4 separate regions of the Homo sapiens genome follow, and all the other regions are linked to region 4. Evidence: promoter capture Hi-C in 16 types of primary human blood cells and fetal thymus (Javierre and others, 2016). All regions are on one chromosome and are shown on one strand. Each heading gives the region's core, a stretch centred on a gene start or on the middle of the fragment in contact. The rest is flanking DNA. Distances are from core to core; before and after follow the strand shown.

What was found. The method cuts DNA at HindIII sites, captures the fragments that hold promoters and counts their contacts. A CHiCAGO score of 5 or more calls a contact.
Region 1: a contact is called between a fragment that was not itself captured here and the fragment with the promoter of BTBD8 in region 4, in 1 of 17 cell types (fetal thymus). The highest score is 7.4, in fetal thymus.
Region 2: a contact is called between a fragment that was not itself captured here and the fragment with the promoter of BTBD8 in region 4, in 1 of 17 cell types (fetal thymus). The highest score is 5.3, in fetal thymus.
Region 3: a fragment that was not itself captured here is called in contact with the fragment with the promoter of BTBD8 in region 4 in 1 of 17 cell types (naive CD4 T cells); the score reaches 6.9 in naive CD4 T cells.

Annotation. Positions count from the first base shown.
Region 1 is chr1:92,474,616-92,477,710 of GRCh38, reverse strand. It overlaps GFI1 (growth factor independent 1 transcriptional repressor), which reads left to right. Exons shown (of 7, transcript NM_005263.5): 7 at 1,504-3,095. The coding sequence ends at 1,682. Among named protein-coding and RNA genes, the nearest start is that of GFI1, 11 kb to the left of the region's middle. RefSeq lists an enhancer at 1,415-1,644. The HindIII fragment of the contact is 3,970 bases long and covers 1-3,095 here.
Region 2 is chr1:92,491,324-92,494,285 of GRCh38, reverse strand. No RefSeq gene overlaps it. Among named protein-coding and RNA genes, the nearest start is that of GFI1, 5.9 kb to the right of the region's middle. The HindIII fragment of the contact is 6,595 bases long and covers 1-2,962 here.
Region 3 is chr1:92,586,571-92,589,765 of GRCh38, reverse strand. All of the region lies in intron 18 of EVI5 (ecotropic viral integration site 5), which reads left to right. Among named protein-coding and RNA genes, the nearest start is that of GFI1, 100 kb to the right of the region's middle. The HindIII fragment of the contact is 1,253 bases long and covers 654-1,906 here.
Region 4 is chr1:92,079,008-92,082,265 of GRCh38, reverse strand. BTBD8 (BTB domain containing 8) reads right to left here and starts at 1,921. Exons shown (of 18, transcript NM_001376131.1): 1 at 1,546-1,921. The coding sequence starts at 1,694. RefSeq lists an enhancer at 1-648. The HindIII fragment of the contact is 1,063 bases long and covers 1,308-2,370 here.

The DNA.
Region 1 (3,095 bases), core at 596-3,095, 400 kb before region 4:
AAGTAGAAGGAGCTGCTCTTACCATCCTGAAACTCAGAAAGAGTGAATGATTTATCAGAAGTAAGACTGAATGAATAATGTAGCCATGTAATGCTCTGGCTTTTAATCCTGGACTGTTTGTCTAACACTTTATGTGCGGGTGGGAGTTTTAATGCCAAGAACACTCTAATAGTCAAAAGACATTTACATGAGACCCAGAATTTCTGAAAATTTTATTGCAGAATATGAATACTGATTTAGAACAAATCACAGTGTATTCTAAACACCCACCCTTGATGTTTATAAATATACTTGGGTAATGTATATATTTCCATTGAAAACCCAGAAAAGTATTCTACTTTAATCATTCCCTCTTACCTGAAATTTCCATGTAATTCACTCCTTATAAGTAAGGTATTCAGGACACTTATCAAAATGCAACTAGGATCTTGACTGAATAAAACATTAAGCCCTTATCAAACATTTACGTTATACCTAGAATTTGTTTTCTCAGATTTGTTTGACCCTAAAGGGATAGAATACATTTTGATGGGTGGTTTCTTATCAAGGAAATCTGAAGCATGAAAACAGAAAAGAGTTTTTAGCAAGGAGGACAGAGGGTTCCTCAAAAACAAACTTCATCTATTTTATACTTTTTCCAAGGCTGAGCCCTGACTATAATGCCATGCTGGGCTATTGGAAATTCATGCCATTTACCCAACAACACATGAGATGGGGAACAAGACAAAACCTTCTTGTGTTCTCTTATTTATTAATTTGTGGTGAAGAATTGCTGGTATATAAAGAATCATGTGATTAACCCCATAAAATTAAGGAAAAATCAAGACAGTAAAGTATCAGCTGCCTTAATCCTTTGTGGCCCAAATGTGGATTTTTAAAATAAGATATTGAAAAACGTATCCTGCACATGTACCCCGGAACTTAGAAAGAAAGAGAGAGAGAGAGAGAAATAAAGAAAGAAAGAAAGTCCATGTTAAGATGTTTTTTCAGATATAATCTGCTGTCCTTCAAGAACAAGAAAGAAGACGGGCTCACTGATCCATACAAACTAACACCCACTTGGAAATTCAGATTTGAAAACTTCCTCTGAATTAGAACGGAGTCACACGGTTTTAGGACAGCTTCCCCCTCCCCTTCCTGTTGAACATCTGCTCTGAGTGTTCATGGCTTATAAAGTCAGGGGAGTCCTCCCGGGGTAGATTCAGCTGGGGAGGGCACGTGGCCTTTGCTCTGTTTCCGTTTAGCAGGAAACCGTTTGAGGCCTTTGGCTGGGAACCCCCCTTCAGAAAGTCTCCCTTTCACCTGGTGCCCCCATGGTGCTTCCAGGGACTCGCATTGCAGGCTGGGAGTCAGTTCAGGTTGCAACACGTCACCCTCCAAGTTGCTTGAAGGCCTTAGACTGTGGTGCAACCAGCTGCTGCCAAGAGCATGTGGGTCACAGTGGGTCCCCTCTAGCTTTATCATAGACTCATACTTTCTCCCCTCCCCCTCCCATCCCCACAGGTGAGAAGCCTCACAAGTGCCAGGTGTGCGGCAAGGCATTCAGCCAGAGCTCCAACCTCATCACCCACAGCCGCAAACACACAGGCTTCAAGCCCTTCGGCTGCGACCTCTGTGGGAAGGGTTTCCAGAGGAAGGTGGACCTCCGAAGGCACCGGGAGACGCAGCATGGGCTCAAATGAGCACCCTGGCTGGCTGCAAGCAGCAGCTACACAACACTACAGAGGGCAGCCTCCCTGCTTGCCACCACTCTGCTCCCTGCTTGCCTCCACTCCCTTCTGACTTTCCAGACCCCAGGTCCAGTCTGCAGATCCTACCAGGTTGCTCCTCCTTCGCCTTACCTCCTGGAGCTGCCAGAAGAAATGAGGTACCTTTTCAAAGTGCAGCCGAGAGTGAGAACCAAGTGACTCTCTAGGCTTCGGACACAAATAGGCTCCTCTACACCTGAAGACAAAGGCAAAGTCAAATGGGGACCAGAATAAATCTTAGACCCCACAGTCCTTCCCATTTCCAGCCCTAATCTACAGACAGGAATGCCCTTCAGGTTTCTTCCCTCCCCCCTCTTGACCTACCCCAGATATTTGTGTGGAAGAGGAGGAATCACCATTTACAAGGTGGACAAATGCTAATATTTTTATCTAGAAAGAAGAGTGAGTGTTAACTTTTATTTTTTTCCTTCTGGGGGGTCTGTTGACTCCTTTCTTTTGGGTGCTGCCTATAAATCTTGGAGGAATCATTTCTCCTCCTCAAAAACTGATTCAGAAACTGACTTGGGGAAGGAATTTAATACTTTGAAGTCATGAGATGCACCATCGAGGCTACCCCCAAGAAGAAGCAGAAGAGAAGTTGGTAATGAGAGGGGATTAGAGGTCCTCCCTTCAGTAGGGCTGTGAAAACCTCATCACTGGAGGTAAAAGCACAAGCAATGCCTGTGGACAAGATGTCATTCATTCACTCAGCAAATGTTCATGGATCACCGGCTACCAAGGTACCAGGCACCATGCTAGGTATTGGGGAAGAGAGACTGAAGTCACAACCCCTGACTGCTCCTCAAAAGCTAACGGTTGCACCTCCAAGTGGCTGGGTCTGTTCTTACTCTTGGAGGGAATTCTGAGAAGACAGCACAGAATTGTAAACCTTCCCTTTTGACCCTTTTGGATTTTATCAGGTGTAAACAAAAAGCTGAACAGTTACTTCAAAGATATGTGTGTATATTCAGTTTTTTATTGTTAAGCTGATATTTTAAAGATTTCTGAGCTAGCAGGCATGTGGGAAGGAAGGCTCTGTCTTCAACTCTTTGACCCTCCATGTGTACCATAGAGGGGGGAAAGGTGGTATTTTCACTTTGATGAGGTTGGTAAATGTTTTTAGATCTTCTGGTAAGCATTATGTTTGTTAATACATATTTATTAGAGTGATGTTTTAAGTTAATAAAGTATTAAGAGTATTACAGATTGCCTTTCCTTTAGGCAGGGAATTTGGGGAAGACCTTTGTTTTAGTCTGTAGGGGGAAAGCTGGCACTGAAGGAAACTGCAATGGAGTATAAAAGTGAAGCACACAAGCTAATATCCAGAAGAGTAAAATCCAATTGCTC
Region 2 (2,962 bases), core at 451-2,950, 410 kb before region 4:
TGCAACCTCCACCTCCCAGTTTCAAGCGATTCTCCTGCCTCAGCCTGCCAAGTAGCTGGGACTACAGGTGTGCACCACCACACCTGGCTACTTTTTGTATTTTTAGTAGATACAGGGTTTCACCATGTTGGCCAGGCTGGTCTCAAACTCCTGACCTCAGGTGATCCACCCACCTTGGCCTCCCAAAGTGCTGGGATTATAGGCTTGAGCCACTGCGCCTGGCCCTTCATGTGTTTTAATTAAAGCTCAAATGAAAACTCATGACAGTCCCTACTGATAAATTGCTCCTTGCCAGACAGTAAGAACAGTTGAGAATATTTTAGGAAGAGGCAATGATCCCCTAGCACTTCTCTACCAGCCTCAGCTCAGATGAACTGCTTGGCTTTATGGGGACACAGACCATGACAGTTGGAAGTGATCCTTGGAAAGCCTCCTGTGGGAGATAAGGTCCAGGAGCTCAGGAAGGGAGCCTGAGTCTCTCAGGTCTAATTGGGATATCAGAAATCCATATAAAAATGGCCGGTCATGGTGGCTCACGCCTGTAATGCCAGCACTTTGGGAGGCCGAGGTGGATGGATCACCTGAGGTCAGGAGTTCGAGACCAGCCTGGCTAACATGGTGAAACCCCCTCTCTACTAAAAATACAAAAATTAGCTGGACGTGGTGGCAGGCGCCTGTAATCCTAGCTACTCAGGAGGCTAAGGCATGACAATCGCTGGAACCCAGGAGGCGGAGGTTGCAGTGAGCCAAGATCGCACCACTGCACTCCAGCCTAGGTGACAGAGCGAGACTCTGTCTCAAAAAATAAAAAATAAAAAAAAAAAGAAATCCACATAAAAATGCTTCCTGGCAAGTCTCAGGGGCTGCCTGCAGTGCACAAACCTACTGCCCCTACAATGGGAGGCCTTGAGGCCTACCTCCTGCAGCAGTCCAGGGTCAGGAGTCAGGCTGGCCTGCGTTGGAATCAGGACTCTGTCCTTCTCTGGCTATGTGATCTGGGGAAGGCAAGCCTCTCTGAGTCTATTCCCACAGCCTGTTCATTGGGATGGTTAGAGATAATGTACATAAAAAGGGCCGCCAATAGTGCCTGTTGTAATAGTGACAATAACTAACACTTAGTAAATGCCTACTCTATGCTTTACATGTATTAACTCATTGAATCTGTTCCAGAATCTATGAAGTAGGTGTTGTTATTGTAACCATGTTTGCAGATGAAGAAACTGAAGTACAGAGAGGTTAAGGAACTTGTTTAAGGATAGAAGAAGGCAGAGCCAGAATTTCCAGACATTAGAAATCTGGCTTAGAGTCCATGCTCTTAATTGCTACACTCTTCTGCCTCTTAGCTACTGTGGTATTTATAATTTTTCTTGGCAGGGGTGTAATTATTACAATCATTCAGGAAAATAATTTCTCAATATGTGTCCATAGACTTGAAAATGTTCCTAGCCTTTAGCTGGGCATGGATGCTCACACCTGTAATCCCAGCAGTTTGGGAGTCCAAGGCAGGAGGATCACCTTGAGGCCAGGAGTTCAAGACCAGCTTGGGCAACATAGTGGGCCTACCTCTACAAAACAAACATACAAACACATAAAAAACAAAACACAACAAAAAGGAGGTTCCTAACCTTTGATCCAGGAGGGGAATCACTTCTGGTTATGAATCCTAAAGAAAGAATCCTACATATAGAAAAACCCAGGTACAATTAAAAAAAAAATCACAGCATCATTTATAGTAGGGAAAAAGGGAAATAATCCAACTGTCCAGTAACATAATAAATAAGATCACAGCACATCATCTAAATGGACAATTATACAATATCATCATAGTAGACTCTTTTTTTAAGACTGGGGGGAAAACACTCTGAAATATTACTAGAGGTTGAACTAAGGTAGTGAGATATGGAGCTGTATTTTTACTTTTTATTTTGTCTACTTTACAAATGTTCTATTGAATTAACATAACTATGCTGCTTTCAGCAACTTAAATACTATTATTTTCTGACCTTTGGATGAGCAGCATGCCTGCCAAGTCCACACTGTTGGGAGTGATGGGTTGGGCCTTGCAGCAGGAGAGGAGGGAATGTGTCTCTCCTCCACCATCCCATCCTTACTACCTCTCAAGTCTGTGACAGGCACGTGACTTTTGGCTCCAGGCTTTTCTACCCTATGCTGGATGTGAAACAAGTAATGTGATTTGGTGGAAAGAAACAATATTTGGAATCAACAGATTTGGTTGGAATAAGAAAGCTGCTAGTTATCAGAACCTGGGCTTCTTAAACCACTGGTGTCTCCCCCTTTTTTTTTTCCCTTCCTTTCCCACGTATGGACCACTGGTGTCCTTATCCATAAAACAGAAATGACCAGAATGCCTGCCTTGGAGAACTCCCAGCATTTCTTTCTCTTCTATGAAGCCCAGGATAGCAGCTGAGGTGGAACATCCAGTGGGCTGCATCTACCTATCATCAGTTCATGCTGTCCTTCTGTCTGTCTCTTTGGGCGAGCCTGAGGTTGTTCATGTGGGATGATCCTCCAAGCCCCGCCTCATGCAGACAGCAGCGGCCAGAGATTTTCAGAAGCCTCAACTCCCACCTTACCTCCAGATATGGGGTCATATATTTCCTTTAAGGGAGTTGTGTTTTGTGAGTAATTTTTAAAATTTACAATATATAGGCTGTACTATTTTAAAGTGAAGTGTTTCATCTGGGGTAGGGTGAACTAATCACCAAACATACTGGAGGAAATGGTGAAAAACTCAAAAGAAAGATAATTTTTGCATTTTCTCTCGTTTGATTTTCCATTCACAAAGCAAACTATACTCCTTTTTTTTCCTATAAAAGTTCACACTGGCTGTGTTTCTATGAGGAGTCATATCACATAGCTCACAGTAAGATGACACTTCGTTCAATCTATTCTTAGGAACAATGTAAAAATACGTATGTGGTGAGATTAACAATTTTCTTAT
Region 3 (3,195 bases), core at 31-2,530, 510 kb before region 4:
ACTCTCTTCAAAGCTGTCAGACAGGGACATTTAAGTCTGCGGAGGTTTCTGCTGCCTTTTGTTTGGCTATGCCCTGCCCCCAGAGGTGGAGTCTACAGAGGCAGGCAGGCCTCCTTGAGCTGCAGTGGGCTCCACCCAGTTGGAGCTTCTCGGCTGTGTTGTTTACCTACTCAAGCCTCGGCAGTGGCAGGCGCCCCTCCCCCAGCCTCGCTGCCGCCTTGCAGTTTGATCTCAGACTGCTGTGCTAGCAATGAGCGAGACTCTGTGGGCGTAGGACCCTCCAAGCCAGGCACAGGATACAATCTCCTGGTGTGCTGTTTGCTAAGACCATTGGAAAAGTGCAGTATTGGGGTGGGAGTGACTTGATTTTCCACGTGCCATCTGTCACCCCTTTCCTTGGCTAGGAAAGGGAATTCCCTGACCCCTTGTGCTTCCCTGGTGAGGTGATGCCTCGTCCTACTTCGGCTCACGCTCGGTGTGCTGCACCCAGTGTCCTGCACCCCTTGTCTGACAATCCCCAGTGAGATGAACGCAGTACCTCAGTTGGAAATGCAGGAATCTTTCATCTTCTGCATCACTCACGCTGGGAGCTGTAGACTGGAGGTGTTCCTATTCGGCCATATTGGCTCCACCCCCAAAAGTCAGCTTAAGCTTGACCAGTTGTGATCAGCATTCCCTGTTAATGCCATCTTACCTGATTTCGTGTATCTCTGCTCTTCTAATACCCTTTGTTAGAGATCTTTCTTATACCATCTCACACTACTGTAGTTAATTCTTTTCAATTTTTCTGTCCACCATGTGCAGCTGAAGTTCATTGAGGGTAAGGACCATTATTTGACTTTATATTTCCAATATCGGCATACTAGCCACAGTCAAAATATGTTTATTTACTGAAATAATTTGTATGTAATAGTTTATTTTTTGAAATATCAATTAGACTTTAAATGTTATTCTAATTTTAAAACCCACATGTGAAGAACAGATTAAGTTTCTAATTTAAATGAAGTATTGGTTTCAATTTTGTAGATATTTATGGGGTACTTACTATGTGCCTGTCACTATTCTAAACACTACCTGGATTAGTGAACAAAATACAAAAATCCCTTTCCTCATTGAGCTTTATGGTAGAATGAGAAGTTAGATGAAAAAAATAAATCTTATGGTGTGAAATTTAGACAGTGGAAGACAACGGAGAAAAATGTGAGAATGAGAAGATATTGGTATTAGGGATGGAGGACTGTTGCTATTTTCACAATGTGGTTTATAAAGGTTCATTAGAAGGGGATATTTATTTAAACAAACATTTGAATCAGATGAGGCATGAAGATTTGGGGGAAGAACTACTTACTAGGAGAATAGTACAGGCAAAGGGCCTGACATAAGGAGCAAGTCTGAAGTAGAGTCTGGGTGGAGTGAGACATGGGAATTAGAGGAAGTCTGAGAGGTAAATAGAGCCAATTATGTAGGACCTAAAACTTTGACCTTTCCCGACTCAGATGGAAAATCATTGGAGGGTTTTGAGCATGGGAGTGATCAGTTAGATGACATTTAAGCTGTTAAAAAGATTTAATTGAACTGATTCAAAAAATACTTGTAAGAATTCATGGTATTTAGTTTGGAGGGAAATGAGGTTAAAAAATTAAGTTTCCTCTTATTACTGGAGTTTTCCACCATCTAAATGCTATTTATTATTTGAAGACTTTATTTTTACATTAATACTAAATGGAGCTATCTCTAAATTCCATGGAGTAGAACAAAACATAGAAAAGTCAATTTTTTCCTCAGTTAGTTAAGGAAAATAGGTGAGAATTAAACCCAAGCCTTCTAGTATTTAACCTGGGATTGAGTTTGTATTTTGGTTATTATAAAGATAAGCATATTGATTTTTGTAACTATGTTAAAAGCTTCTGTGGGCTAAGCACATCTATAAAATTAACGCCACTTTGTTACAAGTAATGGAAAGTTTTTCATTTAAAAGAGTGTAGGTCTACTCAAATCCAACTTTTGGTTTTTTTCCTGGTACCCAGTAACATTTACCCATTTTGATTAGTTTGCCCAACAGATAACCTCTAGGGATGCCTCAGATGGGCAATACCCCAACCACTCTTGGCTTAAAAACGCCCACTCAAAATTCTGTTCTGACATAGAATGAGGGTGCTAGGTTTAAATCACTGTGCTCAGATCAGTATGTAGTTTTGACAGAGATGGAGAGGAAGTGATAAAACCTTTACCATTAACTTAAAAATATTATATTTTTTAATTATGTGAAATTACCATGACATTACTAAATGATGGAATTTATCATAAAGCTTTGTGATTAGTTTGTACTTTCCAGTTTCCTGAGCTAACTTGTTAATAGTTTTTTTTTTTTTTTTTTGCCCCTGAAGCACAATCGTTTATGGCTTTCGTTTTGAGCAATTTACCTAAATATTAAAATATTTTTCATTTTTCTTTAAGGCATTTCTCAATTTTAAGCATTTTTAATTTGAAAAAATATCTTCTGTAATTGTATCTTGTCTTAATATTAATTGTCAGGAAAATACGTACATAGACTGCTTTACCTAGCTTGCTATCTAGTCATTAGGGATTGCGAGATTCTGTTTAAAAACTTTTTTCTGAAGTGTTCAGAGATTCTTTCGTGTCCAACTTCAGTACACAGTTAAATTTAAAGGGATGAAGTATCTAGAGGTTTTTAGGATATTGCTATATCTAGAATTGAAGAACATCATTTGGATCCCCCAAGATGAGCTCATAGTAAGATCTCAGTTAAGAATTAGGGGAGTTTGGACTCTTAAGTACCATAATATATATGCTCACTTGGTGTTATTAAAAATTAGTTTATGTACACTTAGTGCCCAGATTTTGGTTTTTAATACCATTCTCCAGTGAAGGGGACCAGGGCTTCTCACAGAAATGGCTGATTCTGTGCAGCACACCAGCATGGCACATGTATACATATGTAGCTAACCTGCACATTGTGCACATGTACCCTAAAACTTAAAGTATAATAATAATAAAATTAAAAAAAAAAAGAAATGGCTGATTCTAGGACGGGGACAGGAAATATAGAAGATAAGCCTGGAGCACCTTATAATGCCAATAAGTAAGGAAGTACTCAAAATGCACACACACACACACACACACACACACACACACACAGCCAAAAAAAAAAAAAAACCTACATTAATTGGAGTG
Region 4 (3,258 bases), core at 672-3,171:
ATTTAAGGTGGTTGGGTGAGCATTTTGTTTTGTTTTGTTTTAAAAAAAAACCTTGCTACATCTATTTTTCTTTGTTTATAATAAGAATTTGAGAGTTCTGAGTCCTACCCTCAGTTGTAACTAAGATAAGGATAAATTGTTCACTAGCAATACTTTAACCTCATTTTCTTCATATAAATTAGATGTGTTACCCTAGAAACGTTAACAACTTTAGTATTATTTTTTCCATCTTTTTCATCAGTCCCTCCCTGGTAGAGACAAAGTAGCTTCCCCAGTAGATAGTCCCAAATTAAAGGGATTTTTTTTTTACTTTGATAAATTCTGTTTATAGCTATCGGAGCCTTAAGTATGGGTGAGTTTTTGACAGAAAGCACTTCAAAATGTAGAATCCTGGCTGGGCGCAGTGGCTCACGCCTGTAATCCCAGCATTTTGGGAGGCCGAGGCGGGCGGATCACTTGTGGTCACGAGTTCGTGACTAGCCTGGCCAACATGATGAAATCCCGTCTCTACTAAAAATACAAAAATTAGCCGGGCGTGGTGGCGCGTGCCTGTAATCCCAGCTACTCGGGAGGTTGAGGCAGGAGAATGGCTTGAACCCGGGAGGTGGAGGTTGCAGTGAGCCGAGATCGCGCCACGGCGCTCCAGCCTGGGCGACAGAGCGAGACTCCGTCTCCAAAAAAAAAAAAGTAGAATGCTGCACAACTTTTAATTATTAGTAATTATGTTTACCTCAGTGGTTCTCATAGTCACCCTAGCCAGCAGCATTAGCATCACTTGGGGCCTTGTTAGAAATGGAAAATTTCAGTGATGCCCACCCAAGTTTAAGAATCAATGTCTTGCTGGAAATGTAAATTAGCTAGGTCATATTTCTAAGCTTCAATTTCTTTGTAAGCTGAAATTACTTTAGCTGGATTCCCAATAACCCGAGAAGGATATCCATGAGGCTTACAAAGGTTAAATGTCAGGAAGACCCTCCATTTGCTTTGGTCCTCACAGGAGCTGAGAGTTGCTGGGAGCTACAGAGAGCTCTAGGTGGAGAGAGGAATCCAGGTCGCAATCAGGAAGCATTTCTGGTAAATTGTTTAAAGAGACCTCAGAAGAGACCTCCAAGACTATAGTATTGTTCTTTCCTCATTTCAAATAATCGTTTTCCTAATTTTATTATTTTTCTTAAAATAGTATAAGCTTATTTTAAAAATTGTGTAAGTTTCAGGACCTGGATCCACCCGACCTTAGTGATTGGAAACAACTAAGCGTGCCTGTGTTGAGATATTTCTAGCAAACTAGTGCTGCACACGACTAAGCTTTTTTTGTTTTCCTTTTGAATCTGGTACATGGTGTCGAGGTGCTCGGGATTGTTTATTCAGGGCGAGCGAAGCCACTTTTCGGAATAGTGGGGAGACTGGCTAACGACCCGCAGTCGCCTGAGGCGAGGAGAACCAAGTGCTGAGGGAGGGGGAGGCAGAGCCGAAAGAAGCCTCAGCTTCGGGGCGGAGGTGGGCGATTTAGGAACTGAAGCAGCCAGAGTTCCCGCCTCCTCCTACCTGAGCAAATCCTGGCTGAGCTGCTCCGACACCGTCGCCTTCAGCCGGCGCCGCTCACACGGCCCCTTCCTTTGCAACCCCTTACTGCAAACTCCAGCGGACCCCAGAAGTACCATGGGGGCCGCACTGCCTTCCCCACAGCGAGCCATGTCTCACAGAGGTACGACGCCCTGGAGGCCCAGTACTTGGCCTCACTTGCCCCGCCCAGGAGGAAGAAGGGGGCGTTTCCGACCGAACGCTCGGCTCCTACCCAAATCCGCCCCCTAGGGTAAAAGGTTGACGCCTCTCGTCGGTTTGTAGACAGTCTCCCAGAGAAGCCGGACCGCGGTGGGGAGCCTCAGAATCCCAGAACCGAGCCGGCTCTTGACCCAGGAAGAGCGTGCGCAGGCGTACTCGCTCTGTTTACTTCTGCCGGCGGGCACCCCGCCTCCCATGGCTCAGGCGCGGACCATCCCGCGGGGCAAACCAATCCTCAGGCTCCTTATCCCCTCCCCTCTTCTTTCCCTTCCGGTTGGTGTTCATTCATTTCAATGTTTTACTGAGGCTCGAGTTCAAATCAGCACATGCAGCCTTTCTATGCTGTGTCTTCCTGACAGGTCTACACTTTTTTCCAACGAAAGACTGGGCGAGTCACACCCCCTCACTTACCTGGCTTCTTAACCCTGAGGTATAAATGTTTGGGGCAAGAAAAATTGGCGATGGGAGGAGTAGGGGAAGAACTTCATAAACTGCCAGTCAGAACAATTCTGAGTTCAATATAAGAGATACTTACAGCATCTAGAAGGCCCCATCCCCTTCTTATCCAAGGAGTGGCTCATACAAGCTTTTGGACTTGATCGGAGAAAGCACAGGGCTTTGCATATAAAGCCCTAACATTTATGACCAAGAAGGGAGAAATAGGTAAGGGGCAAAGTCTTTGAGCAGTGAAGTGATGGATGGATGAAATATAGAATTCTCTTTTGTCCCAAATAAAGTAGCAAACTGATTATCATTTAAGGTTTTGGTATTTTTTATTTGATTACTGCCTCCAAAATAAGGAAACTCAGTAGTTCCGCTTCGGGCCGGGCAAGTCCCATCTACTTGGGAAGCGAGGCGGAATGATGGCTTGAGCCCGGGAGGTCGAGGCTGCAGTGAGCCATGATTGCACCACTGCACTCCAGCCTGAACAGCACAGCAAGACCCTGTCTCAAAAAAAAAAAAAAAAAAAAAAATCTGTTTCATTCACAAACTCTACACACAAGGTGAAGAATAGTAATTGCTTGGAAAATACATTGGCCAGGTTGCGGTGGCTCACACCTGTAATCCCAGCACTTTGGGAAGCCAAGGCGGGAGGATCACTTGAGCCCAGGAATTAGAGACCAGCCTGGGCAACATAAGGAGACCCTGTCTCTACCAAACAAAAAAAAAAAAAAAGGAGGCGGGGAGGGGAATATATGGACTTTGTATTTGTACCATAAGATTGGCCAAGAGGTAACCATTTCTTCAGATAATGCCCCCTCTCAAATATTCAGACATCTTAATTCTGAAAAATATAACTGGATAATTGATTTTTTAAAATTAATTCCCAAATGCTTGGATGGATAATTGATTCTTAATTATTCCTGTAGAAACGAGGGGTGTCAAAGATAACATAATAGTAGCTTATATTTGAATCCTTATTATGTGATAAACGCTACTCTATTTGCTCTGTGTGTTTTAACTCAGTTAATCCTT